Linked DNA regions of Homo sapiens: all the other regions are linked to region 3. Evidence: promoter capture Hi-C in 16 types of primary human blood cells and fetal thymus (Javierre and others, 2016). All regions are on one chromosome and are shown on one strand. Each heading gives the region's core, a stretch centred on a gene start or on the middle of the fragment in contact. The rest is flanking DNA. Distances are from core to core; before and after follow the strand shown. Region 1 overlaps CRYBG2 (crystallin beta-gamma domain containing 2). Region 2 has its middle 18 kb from the start of ZNF683. Region 3 holds the start of TRIM63 (tripartite motif containing 63). Region 4 holds the start of ZNF683 (zinc finger protein 683). Region 5 holds the start of DHDDS (dehydrodolichyl diphosphate synthase subunit).

Region 1 (2,700 bases), core at 175-2,674, 280 kb after region 3:
AAGCTGAGGTAGGAGAATCGCTTGAACCTGGGGGGCGGAGGTTGCAGTGAGCTGAGATCACGCCTCTGCACTCCAGCCTGGGCAACAGAGCGAGACTCTGTCTCAAAATTAAAATTTTAAAAAAAAAGTAAATAAATGGAGCCCCTTGGCTCCGTTAGGGCACTTGGGCTTTACAAGGCACTCTTCCCTCGATTCTGTCCTCTGTGATTTTTTCCCTACTGAAGGTTAAGAAACCGAGGGTCAGAGAAGACGAGTGACTGGCCCAGGATGACGCGGCTATGAGGTTGTCAAGCAGGGATTTAAATTCCCATCTTCTGATTTCACATCCAGGCATCCTCCCTCCTACCCCCAGGCCACAGCTCTGGGGCATGTCCAGCTGCTCCTGTGATCATCCTCAGCAGAGCATGTCTCACCCTCCGTCCTGGAGGGGTGGGGCCTGGGTCTTGTTTCTTTTCTGACTCTTCCTTGATCTCTCTGGGTCTCCATAGCCTCCCTTACTAAATGTAGGATAATATTAACACCTGCCAAAGAAGACCTTCTAAGCTTCTGCTATGGCTTGAATATTTGTCCCCTCCAAAACTCATGTTGAAACTTAATCCCCAATGTGGTAATATTGAGAGGTGGGGCCTCTAAGCAGTGATTGGGTTATGAGGGCTATGCCTCATGAATGGATTAATATACTCATGGATTAATAGATTAATGGTTTAATGGATTAATGAGTGATCATGGGAGTAGGACTAGAGGCTTTTTTTTTTTTTTTTTTTTTTTGAGACAGGGTTTTGCTCTGTTGCCCAGGCTGGAGTGCAGTGGCACAATCTCAGCTTACTGCAACCTCTGCCTCCTGGGCCCAAACAGTCCTCCCACCTCAGCCCACCGAGTAGCTGGGACTACAAGCCTGCACCGCTATGCCTGGCTAATTTTTGTATTTTTTGTAGAGTTGGGGTTTCACTATGTTGCCCAGTCTGGTCTCAAACTCCTGAGCCTAAGAGATCTGCCCACCTCCGCCTCCCACAGTGCTGGGATTACAGGTGTGAGCCATTGTGCCTGACCGGACCAGTGGTTTTATAGGAAGAGGAAGGGACACCTGAACTAGCACCTCAGCCCCACTGCCATGTGATGCTCTGAGCCCCCTCGGGACTCTGCAGAGAATCACCAACAAGGTTCTTACCAGATGCACCCCCTTGACCTTGGGCTTCCAGGTTCAGGTATTCCATTATAAGCAACAGAAAATAGACTAAGCTCCCTAGGAACTCTCAGGTGAATTTCTCTGTTTTACTAGTTGCAACAACAACAAAAACAGCCATTTGGGGAGGGCTGACTCTGCCAAACACCTTGCTAAGTGCTTTAGATTCATTGTCCCATTGAAGCCTCAGAAGAATCCCAGGAGCTTGAGACCTCATAAAGAATAAATTATTAATAAATTAGATCATACCTTCCCATTTTGCAGATGAGATTTTTTAAATGCTCAGAGAGGTTAAGAAACTTGTCCAAAGTCACAGAGTAACCGAAACAAGACTTGAACCCCAACCCTAAGTGCTCACTCACCATACCAAACTCCCTAATATATGTATCCTATAACTGAGTCTCTGGTTTGGGGGTTTACATTTACAGGGAGCCATGTCAGTCCTGGAGGGCGTCTCCACCCCCACTCCCTGACTTCCAAGCTACACTGACCAGGGCAATCCTATTCTTAGGCCCCACGAACCCCAGAGAGGCCAGCCTGTTCAGCCCGAGTCTTTGGGCCTTCTCCATGAGGTACCCTCCCCTCCCCAAGAGACCTGACTCTGGGCAGGAAATGGACCCACTGCCCCCACTCCCCTCCCCCATTTCCCATTGTCCTCCTTCCTGAGAAGCTGGTGGAATTCAGAACTTTGACCCTTCCCTGTGGCCACAGCAGTGACTCAGGCTTTATGAGGGGCAGAGATGAAAGAGACTGAAGCCCCGGGAAGCCTGACCTGACTCCAGGACTGCTGGTGGCTATGACAGTGTCAGGGACAGGGTCCAAGGGGGACTGGAAGGTGGAGGGGTTAGGTAGAGCCCTGGTCATTTTCCCAGGCCAGGGCTTCCTGAGAGCAGTACACAGCCAGACACCAAAGGCTCTGGATTTTAGCCTCTCACTGAGGCCCCAGCCCACTCCCCTGTCCCCATTAGGGAGCTCCCTTTTTCCTCATGCAACCCCTGCCCTCCTCGCTGGGACTCTGCCCAAATGAAGTTTGACGCCCTCGCTGAGCACCTCCTAAGCCCCTGTCCACCTGCCTTCCACTCTCCGAGCTTCCTTGTCTCTGATGGTGCTTATAGTAAGTGGCAAAGCTTGAGCTCTAACTCATTCATTCATTCATTCAATTACTCACTCATTCAGTGCTAATTGTATCAAGGGATGTGCTAGGCCTTGGCTAGACTCAACCAGAACCAGAGCCAACTTTCTCATGAAAGGTGGCATATTAAGAAGCCAGGGGCCAAGGAATTAGACATAAAAACAGGGACATTTGGAAAGCGCCATAGGCATCAGGAAAGCGACAGGAGAGCAATGTTAAAGGAGGCGGCCGATCATGAGATCAGATATTGTCGATGACCTCCTACCAATCAGAATTTAACGTCTTTCTCAACCAGCCCAACCCCTGGACAACACCCCTGATAGCCAGTCATTCCACAAGCATGTGGTCATTGGCTTCTGCCTGCATACCTCCAGGGACAGGGAGG
Region 2 (2,700 bases), core at 43-2,542, 320 kb after region 3:
GGGCCTGAAGGGCCAGCCAGTTTTGGAGGGGCATCTAGGAGCAGAATGAGGAGGAAGGGGCAGGGTTAGTGATTTTTGTTTTGTTTTGTTTTGTTTTGTTTTGTTTTGAGACAGGGTCTTGCTCTGTCATCCAGGTTGGAGTACAGTGATGCAATCACAGCATACTGCAACCTCAACCTCCCAGGCTCAAGCAATCCTCCCACCTCAGCCTCCTGCATAGCTGGGGCTGCAGGTACGTACCACCACTCCCAGCCAAGGTTAGTATTGAGAAGGTCAGGGGATCAGATTCTCAGAGAGCAGGTTCTGTGTCTTTCCCATCTGACCAGGGGTTCCCCTGGTTGAGTCCTGGTCTCACCTTGAGATGAGGAGGCCCCCACAGGGTGGGCTCTGTGCCTTCTATTAATATTAGATTGACCGGGCATGGTGGCTCATGCCTGTAATCCCAGTACTTTGGGAGGCTAATGCAGACGGATCATTTAAGATCAAGAGTTCAAGACCAGCCTGGCCAACATGGTGAAACCCTGTCTCTACTAAAAATACAAAAATTAGCCGGTCGTGGTAGCAGGCACCTATAATCCCAGCTACTTGGGAGGCTGAGGCAGGAGAATCACTTGAACCTGGGGTACGGAGGTTGCAGTGAGCTGAGATTTTGCCACTTCACTCCAGCCTGGGCAGAAGAGCGAAACTCCATATCAAAAAAAAAAAAAAAAAAAAAGGCCGGGTACGGTGGCTCACGCATGTAATCCCAGCACTTTGGGAGGCTGAGGCGGGCAGATTACCAGGTCAGGAGATCGAGACCATCCTGGCTAACATGGTCAAACCCCATCTCTACTAAAAATACAAAAAATCAGCCGGGCATGGTGGTGGGCGCCTATAGTCCCAGCTACTCGGGAGGCCGATGTAGGATAATGGCGTGAACCCGGGAGATGGAGGTTGCAGTGAGCCGAGATCGTGCCACTGCACTCCAGCCTGGATGACAGAGTCAGACTCCACCTCAAAAAAAAAAAAAAATCATTTGCACACATTACTTAACTCCTCCCAAGGAGAAGCCCTGAAGCTTAAGCTAAATCTACCTCTGTTCCACTCATTCCTGGAAGACAGGTTTTGAGTTTGATTACTTTGGAAAGGCCTCAGAGGTCTGCTGGCTCTCTGTCCTTGCCTTCTCTTTAAAAAAAAAAAAGTGATTACCAGGAAAATTGCGCCTTGGGAAATGGAGGCCCCGGCTGTGTGTGTGCACGTGTGTGTGTGTGTCTGTGTGTGTGTCCACATGCATGCATTCTACAATTTAAAGGGTTAAACCTCCAACCAAAGCTGAATCCAGCTGTGCACAGGTTTCTCTGTTCATCCCTCTAAAGGAACCTTGATCTTCTCTGCTTCAAGGTCTGTATAAATTGTTCCCTCTGCCTGAAACACACTCTCAACACATGCACACACATACAAACGCCCCCCCTTTACCTCTTTTTCACATTTTCTTTGGTCAAGATTTAGGCATCTGTTAAGTCTCTGTTTCAAAATCAGTTTCTGAGGAAAGCTTTTTTCTGATCTCCTTTCCCTTAAATTAAATCACTATAACTATTTGTTCACTGTAATCCTGCCCTGCTGGTGCCACAAGGCCTGGAACCTCATTTGTCTGTGTATCTATCTTGTTCATGCCTGTATTTTTCCAGTCTGTGGCATGGTGTCTGGCACATAGTGGCACTCAAACAACGTTTCAATGTATGAATGAATGAATGAACAACGGAACTTAGTGATGGTGGATGAGGAAAGGGGTCATGTGGGGTAAGGGTGTCCCCTGCTGGACATTGAGAGTACCCAGGGCATCCTCTCTGAGCTGGGAAGAATGACTCTCGGTCATAAATTTCCTCCCTGAGGGGCAGAGTTGGGGAACCTCACCTTATGCCCAGACTGCTGATGCATGCCTTCTTCTTACCTCTATCAGCCCCCACACCACTGTCCTCCCAGCCTTCAGAGCATCCGTCCCCACCCCCAGTGGCCTGACCCACCCTCCCCCACGCTGCAGACCACATCAGCAAGGCTGTGGAGCGCCACAGCGATTTCTGCATCCTCTCCACAATGAATATCCACCCCCTCTTAAACCTTTTGCTTTGAATAAGAATAGGCCCAGAGTCCTCCATCGATCCTCTTTCCCCCTCCTCCCAAATCAATCAATCAGTAGTGATTGGCTGGGACACTGGGGTGGAGGTGGACGAGGACTGGTGGGTGAAGAGCAAGGAAAGTTGGTGGGGTGGTGGTGGGGTAGGTGAGTGTGTTTCTGAAACAGGATCCCGCTAAAAGTATGGCAGAACAGTGGATTTCTCTGGAGGAGAATAGTTGGTGAGAAGATACCTGGGATGAGGTATTTAGAAAAAGGTGAATGAGAAATTCCTGACTACTGTCTTTTTTTTTTTTTTTTTTTGAGATGTAGTCTTGCTCTTGTTGCCAAGGCTAGAGTGCAATGGGGCAATCTTGGCTCACTGCCACCTCCACCTCCCGGGCTCAAGTGATTCTCCTGCCTCAGTCTCCCAAATAGCTGGGATTACAGGTGCCTGCCACCAAGCCTGGCAAATTTTTTGTATTTTTAGTAGAGATGGGGTTTCACCATGGTAGCCAGACTGGTCTCGAACTCCTGACCTCTGGTGATCCACCTGCCTCCGCCTCCCAAAGTGCTGGAATTATAGGAGTGAGCCACCGCACCCGGCC
Region 3 (2,700 bases), core at 185-2,684:
AAGGAGCGTGGGGGATCTAGGCACAGCATGGCTGGGAAGGAGGGCGGGCCCCCAGCAGGCACGAGAACCGACCTGGAGCACTCCTGTTTGTAGATGTCGATGATGTTCTCCACCAGCAGGTTCCTCTGCAGGCCGTACACTCCGTGACGATCCATGATCACCTCGTGGCGGCAGGTGGGGCAGCGGAAACGGCCTCCAGACATGGACACTGAGCTGCCCCGGCTGGTCCAGTAGGGATTTGCAGCCTGCAGGTGGCAAAGGTCAAGGTGAGGCCTGGGCTCCCTACTTAGCCCTTCTCTTTTCTAATCTCCTCTTATCCTTTCCTCTGCCTATCCGAACCACCCCCGTCAAACCTAACAACCTGGAGCTCTGCAGACTGTGATGAGAACCAGTCCTCACACACAGAGCACCTGAGAAGCAGCTAAGCAATCGTCAGGATGGGGAGGCAGGAGACCTGGGTTCAAGTCATGTTTATTCTCTGAGTGATTTTGGGCAAGCAACCTTATCTGTGTAGGCCTCAGTTTGCCCACTTATGAAATAGGTATTACAATGAGAGCAAGCTCCTAAGGCTGCTACTTTAAAGATAATATCGTGAAAGAACATTTTGTAAAGTGTCCATGGGGAACCTCGCATCCTGCCTCCCAGCCAGGACATCTACCCCCTTCCTTTCTCGGGGAGTTGGAGCCCCTTCTGCCCCCATATCATAGGGAACAGCCTCAAAAGGGAAGATGCCTCTACTGCCCACTGCCTCCCTGACACCCTCCTCCCAAAGCTCTGGGCCTCTTGCCACCAGGACCTGGCTCCAGCCCCAGGGGTCTGGTTTCTCTCTCCTGTCCCTGCCTACCCCGCTTATCACTTGAGGCATTTGACTCTTGATTGGAGAGTCAACAGCAGTGCTCAGGGCAGGGGTGGGGGAGCTGTGGGCAGGGCAGGGAGGGGAAACTTGTGTTATGGAGAAGAACCGCAGCAGCCAGAGCCGCCTCCCAGCCCCCTCTCAGCCCTGTCCAGAGGCCTCTGCAGGGGTTCACTTCCAAGGGGAAAGAGGCTGTCCAGGTTGGAAGTCTAAGGGAGAAGGGTTTCATCACAGGGAAGCCAAGTAGCCACCTGGGGACCCCAAATGAAGCTGCACCCGGCACTTACCTGGAAGATGTCATTGGCACACTTCCGGCACAGGTTGTGCTGGCACGGCAAGATGACCACTGGCTTGGTAAACATCTCCAGGCAGATAGGGCAGATCAGCTGCTTCTCCAAGTTCTCCATGGGATTCCCATCCTGGATCAGGCTCGACTTATAATCCATTCTGTGGGAAGGAATGAGAGCCACGCCTAGCTGCCTCCTCTACTAACTTTGCTCTAAGTAGACCTGGGGGTCTTGCCTTTGTCACAAAACACCGGGTCGGATCCTGTTGGCTTCCTTCTCCTGGTGCCCGAATTCTGTCTTGGTCTGAGGCCCCTCTGATATTTATAGCTAGATCTTGGTCACATGAGCCCCAGGAGGGGACCAGCTGAGCATTCCGATGCCAAGCGGCTGGTGGGGCTTGAGTTTCCTCCAGGCCTGAAAGACTGGCCCTCTCAAATCACATGCAGGGATGAGCAATCACTATTCTGCTGGGACGGGGGTCATAAACAAGAACAGCCTGTTCAGAGGCAGGCTTAGGGCAAGACTGGGTACCCAGAGCTTCCTCCAGAAATTGGTCTCCCCCCGGCACCAGGCTAGTGGGTCAGGGATGGGACCCAGCAAGTGAGCCACGGGGATTCAAGGGGTTAATAGCCAATGCTATGATGAAAATGTTCGATGAATGAATTTTATTCATTCATCAGACATTTTTCTGAGTACTAGTATATACATCAGGCAACTAGTATACATCACAACGTGACAGATGGATGAGTGATCTGTTTCCCTGCCCCGAGAAACTCACAGCCCAGGAAGGGAGATAGAAAGGATTGTGCAGTGGCACGATCTCTGCTCACTGCAACCTCCACCTCCCAGGTTGAAGGGAGTCTCCTCCTTCAGCCTCCCAACCTCAACCCCCTCCCAGCCCCACGCAACCCCTCACTGACCTAAATCAATTCCATCCCCTCCTCTGGAGTCCTGGGCAGCTCCTAGATGGAAGGGTCGGGCAGCCCCTCTCTCTGAGCCCATCCCTCTGCCTCAGACTTCAGCACAGCATTTTGCTGGAGATGATGGAGACCCCCACTCCAACCAGCCCATCCTCCATCCCTCGGCCACTTATTTCACTTAGTGCTGAAAAGCCTCCTTTGAAACACAGTCCAGTCCCCTCATCTTACAGATTTTGAAATGGGACTAGAGAAGAAAAGGATTATATTCAAAGTCAGTTGGAAAGTAAGTGGCAGCCGGGCGTGGTGTCTCACACCTGTAATCCCAGCACTTTGGAAGGCTGAGGCAGGTGGATCACTTGAGGTCAGGAGTTCGAGACTAGCCTGGCCAACATGGTAAAACCCTGTCTCTACTAAAAACACAAAACTTAGCTGGGTGTGGTGGTACGCGCCTGTAATCCCAGCTACTCAGGAGGCTGAAGCAGGAGAATCACTTGAACCCAGGAGGTGGAGGTTGCAGTGAGCTGAGATCGCGCCACTGCACTCCAGCCTGGGTGACAAGAGTGAAACGCCATCTCCAAACAAAACAAAACAAAACAAAAAAGAAAGAAAATAAGTGGCAAAGACAGAAATTTTATTCATT
Region 4 (2,700 bases), core at 97-2,596, 310 kb after region 3:
AGCCTGGGCAACAAAGCAAGACCTCATCTCTACAAAAAATACAAAACTTAGCTGGGCATGGTGACTTGCACCTCTGGTCCCAGCTACTCAGGAGGCTGAGGCAGGAGGATCACTTGAGCCCAGGAATATAAGGCTGCAGTGAACTAGGATATTGCCACTGCACTCTAGCCTGGGTGACAGAGAAAGACCCTGTCTCTTTAAAAAAAAAAAAAATAGACATAGCAAAATGGGTGTAAGGCATGACTAGGCCAGGTGTGGTGGCTCACATCTGTAATCCCAGCACTTTGGGAGGCTGAGGTGGGCCAACTGCTTGAGCCCAGGAGTTCAAGACCAGCATGAGCAACATGGTGAAACACCATCTCTACAAAAAATACAAAAATTAGCCAGGCATGGTAGCGCATGCCTGTTGTTCCAGCTACTCAGGAGGCTGAGGTGGGAGGATCACTTGAGCCAGGGAGGTCGAGACTGCAGTGAGCTGAGATCATGCCACTGCACTCCAGCCTGGGTGACAGAGCGAGACCCTGTCTTAAAAAAAGTTAATAAATAAGGAAAAGACATGTCTAGATACAAAAAGGGAGACCTCATAGGCCAGAAAGTGGCTTTTTAGCCTGAGCAATGTCATTATTCTTGTGAGCATGAGAAGAGGCATCACCCCTGCGGCCTTACACAAATTCTGGTGTGCGTGAGTCTGGCCCAGGGTGCAAAAGCCCCAACCAGCCATCAATCTGCACCCCAGCCACGCCACCCTGGTGTCCCAGAATATACAGGGACATCTCAGGCTGTGCACCATGGGCTGGGGCATGTTCCTGGGGTTTCTCTGCCAGCTCAGCCCCTAGGGCTGTGACTCATCCTCCACATAACTGATCCCAACATGTTTGTGAGCATCTCAAGGACAGGGTCCTCTGTCTACTCATTTTGGTTTTCCATGTAGACATCTGTCAGGTTTTTTTGGACGCCCAGCCTCTGAAACTTTTCCCCTACATGAGTCTTGAGGGAGGCAAAAGGTACCTCCCATTATAAAAGCCGAAATGGCCAAATACTTAATTCCAACCTCCCTCACCAGCACTTCATGCAGGCATACATGGACTAGGTCGATCAGATGTCCCCACCCAGAAGGGGTGACCCGCACACCTTTGGCTTCCATCTGCCAGCTCTGCCCTCTCCTGGCATCACACTCTGCTCCCAACTCTCAGAACACCTTGCACAACTTCTCTGTTAGAAAAAAATAAAAACTACTTCCCCTCTATCCGCACTTCCCAACCTACTCTGGTGATCATGGGCTTTCCTTGGCTTGGGTCTCTGGTCTGGGTCAAGGCATCTGCTCAGGTTCCTCAGTTAGAAGACCATGGTCCTCCCTTTGTGCTACCTCCCCAGGGCATGTGGGACAAAGTGACATCACATTTAGGCCTGTGACATCACAGGGCATGGAGGCTGACAAGACAGATGATCTGGGAGACGAGAGCAAGGAAGGGCTTGGCAGGCAGAGGCTGCTCCATGTGGGAACCTGAGGGAGTCTGTCTTAGCCCACCTCCTGGGACATTTCCTTGCCAAGCCGAGTCTTGTGAGCATGAGAAGAGGCATAACCCCTGTGGCCTCACACAAATTCTGGTGTGCGTGAGTCTGGCCCAGGGTACAAAAGCCCCAAGCAGCCATTAATCTCCACTGCAGCCCAGTAGACTAGCAGATCAGAAGCTAGTGCCACTGGCTGAGCGCAGTGGCTCACGCCTGTAATCCCAGGACTTTGGGAGGCCGAGGCGGGCAGATCACTTGAGGTCAGGAGTTCAAGACCAGCCTGGCCAACATGGTGGGACCCCATCTCTACAAAAATACAAAAATTAGCCAAGTGTGGTGGCACGTGCCTGTATTTCCAGCTACTTGGGAGACTGAGGCAGGAGAATTGCTTGAACCCGGGAGGCGGAGGTTGCAGTGAGCTGAGATGGCTCTGCTACACTCCAGGCTGGGCAACAGAGTGAGGCTCCATCTCAAAATAAAATAAAATACAATAAAAAAAGCCACTGGTCCTGAGGTGGCAGGTCTGTGGAAACTCCTCTCTACAACAAAGGCTGTGGTACCACATCCGGCTTCCAGGGCAGTGAAGGAAAGAAGGGGGTTCAGGGGAGGCTGCAGAATCTGTGCAGGGCTGGTCCTGGGGTGTGATATTTGGCCATGGTCCTGTCTACTTCCAGCCTCCCTTGATCCATCCTATTCTCCAAGCCTTGCTCTCCAGCCTTCTCAGACCTCCTGCGAGCTTTTCTAACATCTTTTAAACAAATTCCTTCTGCTTAACTCCTCCTGAAATGGTTTTTGTAGCTTACAACTGATAATTCTGCATTATACATGCCCAGAATAGAAGATAAAGTAACAGGGTTCCAGCTGGAATTGTCCAAGGAACAGAGTAAATAGCCACCTTTACAAACAGCTTTCTTGCTGTGTCTGGCACTGTGCTAGGGGCTTCATAAACTTTATCTCATTTAGTCTTCACAATAAGCCTGTGTGGTGGATTTTATTATTAGCAGCTCATCCAGAGTCACACAACAAGTAGCCAAGAGCTCTTTAGTGGTAAACCTCAGACTCTGCCATCTCTTGGCCATGTCAGCTTCCCCCACTACGACAGCCACCCCCTCATTTCTTTCTTTCTTGCTCTCTCTTCCCACATGCTGTTCCCAGTCCTTCCCCCAACTCCTCAGTGGCCCCCTCAGT
Region 5 (2,700 bases), core at 8-2,507, 360 kb after region 3:
GAGCCGAGATCGCGCCACTGCACTCCAGCCTGGGCGACATAGCCAGACTCCGTCTCTAAATAAATAAATAAATAAATAAATAAATAAAAATAATACTGGTTGTATAAGAATCTGTAAAGAATTTTTTCCTCCTCTTTCAATTTTGAGAAAATTGAACTACAAATTTGTTTTGTGAGCCTAGAATTCTTGCAACCCTTTTTTTCGTAAAGGTTCAGTAGAGCTAATGCCCTTAACTTTTCTACCAGGGTTAATTTCTGTTATTTTCATTTATGTACTGCCAAAGCGAGCACCTTTCTGTTATTTTAGAAGTCATGCTTTTTTTTTTTTTCTTTTTTCAGACAGAGTTTCGCTCCTGTTGCCCAGGCTGGAGTGCAGTGGCCTGATCTTGGCTCACCGCAACCTCCGCCTCCCGGGTTCAAGCGATTCTCTTGCCTCACCCTCCCGAGTAACTGGGATAACAGGCGCCCGCCACCACGCCCGGCTCATTTTCTGTATTTTTAGTACAGACGGGGTTTCACGATGTTGGTCAGGCTGGTCTCAAACTCCTGACCTCAGGTGATCCGTTCGCCTCGGCCTCCCAAAGTGCTGGGATTACAGGCGTGAGCCACCGCGCCTGGCCTAGAAGTCATTCTTATGGCAGAAATCTTTCTGGCCTTACCCCTTCTCTTGAGTTCGTTGGGATAGGTCTTGGGAATCCACAAATCCTAAAATATGCGTGCCTTAAGTCGGCACAAAATAGATTAATATTCTGCGCGTCTGTAAGATTGGCTGCGGCTAGAAACTCCTTCCCAGACGATTAAATCCACTAAATAAAATACGAAACGGTAACGAGATAATTTTTAAGAGTATGCACCAGTGCTCTAATGAAGCCCGGTTCTGCGGCATTCCAAGGTAAGGACGCTGCCTTACCCAGTCTCTCAGCAGTCCTAAGCTGCCTTCGACGGCCGAGAAGCGCCTCGATTCTTGCCCCTGGCTCATTTCCCTGGCGCGTTTTCCAGACGCCTCCGCTCCCAACGCTGGGCTCAACCCTGTCTTCCCCAGCTGGTCTCCCAGCACGTGGCCTGGAGCCCAGCCTCCCGCCCCGCTCGGTCACGTGAGCCTGGCTCTCACCCGCGCCGGCTTCCACACCCCGCGGGACTGAGAACCGCCCTCCCACTAGCTCGCAGGCGCAGGCGCAGGGCAGGGTCCCCTCAGTTTGGGTGACGGAAGGGGCGTGTCGCAGCGCCCAAAGATGACGTGTTCTGCCAGCGCCACGTCATGAGGAAGTGCCGGCCCACTGAAGCCGTGGGGACGCGCCCAGCGGAGCTAATCAGGTGCCACTGAACTGAAGGGGTGAACTAGAGGAGAAGAGGGTGACTGGGCGGGGAGCAGCTGCGGGAGAAGCAAAGGGACGACTGAGGGAATAATCAGGAGACCACTGAGGCGTGAAGTACTAGGCGTGCGATAACTGAAGGAGTTAGTAACTGGGAGCACAGAGTTGGAAACAGCTTAGGGGAAGATGGAGAAGGAAGAAACGGGGAATGATCAAGATGTGGGCACCATGATGTGGCAGGAAACCGACTTAGATGTTCAGAAGAAGTCAGTGCAGATACGGAGGAAATGGGAATGGGAAGAAGTCTGCAAAGCCAGGAGAACCGAGGAAAGGCTTTTGCCTCCAGAGGTCACATTGCGTTATAAAACTCTGGGTGGTAAAAGATTATAGGCTTAGACCAGTGTCTTTGGATTCTAATGCTGGCTGCTCTCCATAGTCCATCTGATTCCCCAGAAGTCAGTTATAGCTCTTCGCAAACCTTGGTGACTTCTTATTTTCTTTCTTGTTTATCCAAGATTACCTGGCTGGTGTTTGCTTGTTCTGGAGTGATCTTCTGACTGGAAAAGAACTATGTCATGGATCAAGGAAGGAGAGCTGTCACTTTGGGAGCGGTTCTGTGCCAACATCATAAAGGTGAGCAATGGCCCAGAGCACCGGTTGGCCTTCTGGTCAGTTGGATAATCTTATATAAAAACCTGTTATTAAAGTTGATGATGTTAAGTGCAATTCATGATGTTAAGTGGAATTTAGCAAGGAAACCAAAGAGTCTTAGAATGGTAACTTCCAGGTCTACATTTCTGGTAGACTTTTGTCCTAACTCTGATATTTTCTGGAAGCCCAGGCCTCTTAATGTCACTGGGCAGCCTAGACTGCTAAGTATTCTTTATAGAGAACTGAAATTTGTTTCCCTGGAACATTGATCCATTGTTCCATGTACTGTCTTCTTGATTTAAATAGGTTAATCTTTGATATATTCTTTGATCTGTCAGTAGAGCTGGGCCCGGTCACTCACGCCTGTAATCCCAGCAATTTGGGAGGCTGAGGTGGGCAGATTGTTTGAGCTCAGGAGTTGAGACCAGCCTGGGCAACATGGCAAAACCCCGATTCTCCAAAAAATTAAAAAAATAGCAGGGCTTGGTGGTGTGCACCTGTAGTCCCAGCTACTCGGAAGGCTGAAGTGGGAGAATTTCTTGAGCCCAGGTCAAAGCTGCAGTGAGTCATGATTGTGCCACCACACTCCAGCCTGGGTGACAGAACGGGACTGTCTCAAAAAAAAGAGTTCAGAACAAGACTCTGTCTCAAAAAAAAAAAAAAAAAAAGAGTTTGGGCTCTAGACGCAGACAAACATGGGTGAAATTCCTGTTCTTTTTTTTATTTTGAGATGGAGT

What was found. The method cuts DNA at HindIII sites, captures the fragments that hold promoters and counts their contacts. A CHiCAGO score of 5 or more calls a contact.
Region 1: a fragment that was not itself captured here is called in contact with the fragment with the promoter of TRIM63 in region 3 in 1 of 17 cell types (M1 macrophages); the score reaches 5.7 in M1 macrophages.
Region 2: a fragment that was not itself captured here is called in contact with the fragment with the promoter of TRIM63 in region 3 in 6 of 17 cell types (M2 macrophages, M1 macrophages, M0 macrophages and 3 more); the score reaches 9.5 in M2 macrophages.
Region 4: a contact is called between the fragment with the promoter of ZNF683 here and the fragment with the promoter of TRIM63 in region 3, in 6 of 17 cell types (M1 macrophages, monocytes, M0 macrophages and 3 more). The highest score is 6.1, in M1 macrophages.
Region 5: a contact is called between the fragment with the promoter of DHDDS here and the fragment with the promoter of TRIM63 in region 3, in 2 of 17 cell types (M1 macrophages and M0 macrophages). The highest score is 5.5, in M1 macrophages.

What each region holds. Positions count from the first base shown.
Region 1 is chr1:26,349,065-26,351,764 of GRCh38, forward strand. The region is part of intron 1 of CRYBG2 (crystallin beta-gamma domain containing 2); the gene reads right to left. Among named protein-coding and RNA genes, the nearest start is that of CRYBG2, 3.7 kb to the right of the region's middle. RefSeq lists an enhancer at 305-1,151 and a silencer at 2,367-2,565. The HindIII fragment of the contact is 1,767 bases long and covers 542-2,308 here.
Region 2 is chr1:26,389,877-26,392,576 of GRCh38, forward strand. No RefSeq gene overlaps it. Among named protein-coding and RNA genes, the nearest start is that of ZNF683, 18 kb to the left of the region's middle. The HindIII fragment of the contact is 474 bases long and covers 1,056-1,529 here.
Region 3 is chr1:26,066,196-26,068,895 of GRCh38, forward strand. TRIM63 (tripartite motif containing 63) reads right to left here and starts at 1,435. Exons shown (of 9, transcript NM_032588.4): 1 at 1,141-1,435; 2 at 73-245. The coding sequence starts at 1,299. The HindIII fragment of the contact is 10,936 bases long and covers 1-2,700 here.
Region 4 is chr1:26,371,404-26,374,103 of GRCh38, forward strand. ZNF683 (zinc finger protein 683) reads right to left here and starts at 1,347. Exons shown (of 6, transcript NM_001114759.3): 1 at 1,266-1,347. The HindIII fragment of the contact is 11,410 bases long and covers 1-2,700 here.
Region 5 is chr1:26,431,064-26,433,763 of GRCh38, forward strand. It overlaps DHDDS (dehydrodolichyl diphosphate synthase subunit), which reads left to right and starts at 1,258. Exons shown (of 9, transcript NM_205861.3): 1 at 1,258-1,313; 2 at 1,828-1,945. The coding sequence starts at 1,883. It overlaps LOC124903883 (a long non-coding RNA gene), which reads right to left and starts at 1,174. Exons shown (of 2, transcript XR_007065557.1): 1 at 910-1,174; 2 at 1-55. RefSeq lists enhancers at 477-1,013, 798-857, 928-987, 1,014-1,550, 1,088-1,577. The HindIII fragment of the contact is 8,751 bases long and covers 1-2,700 here.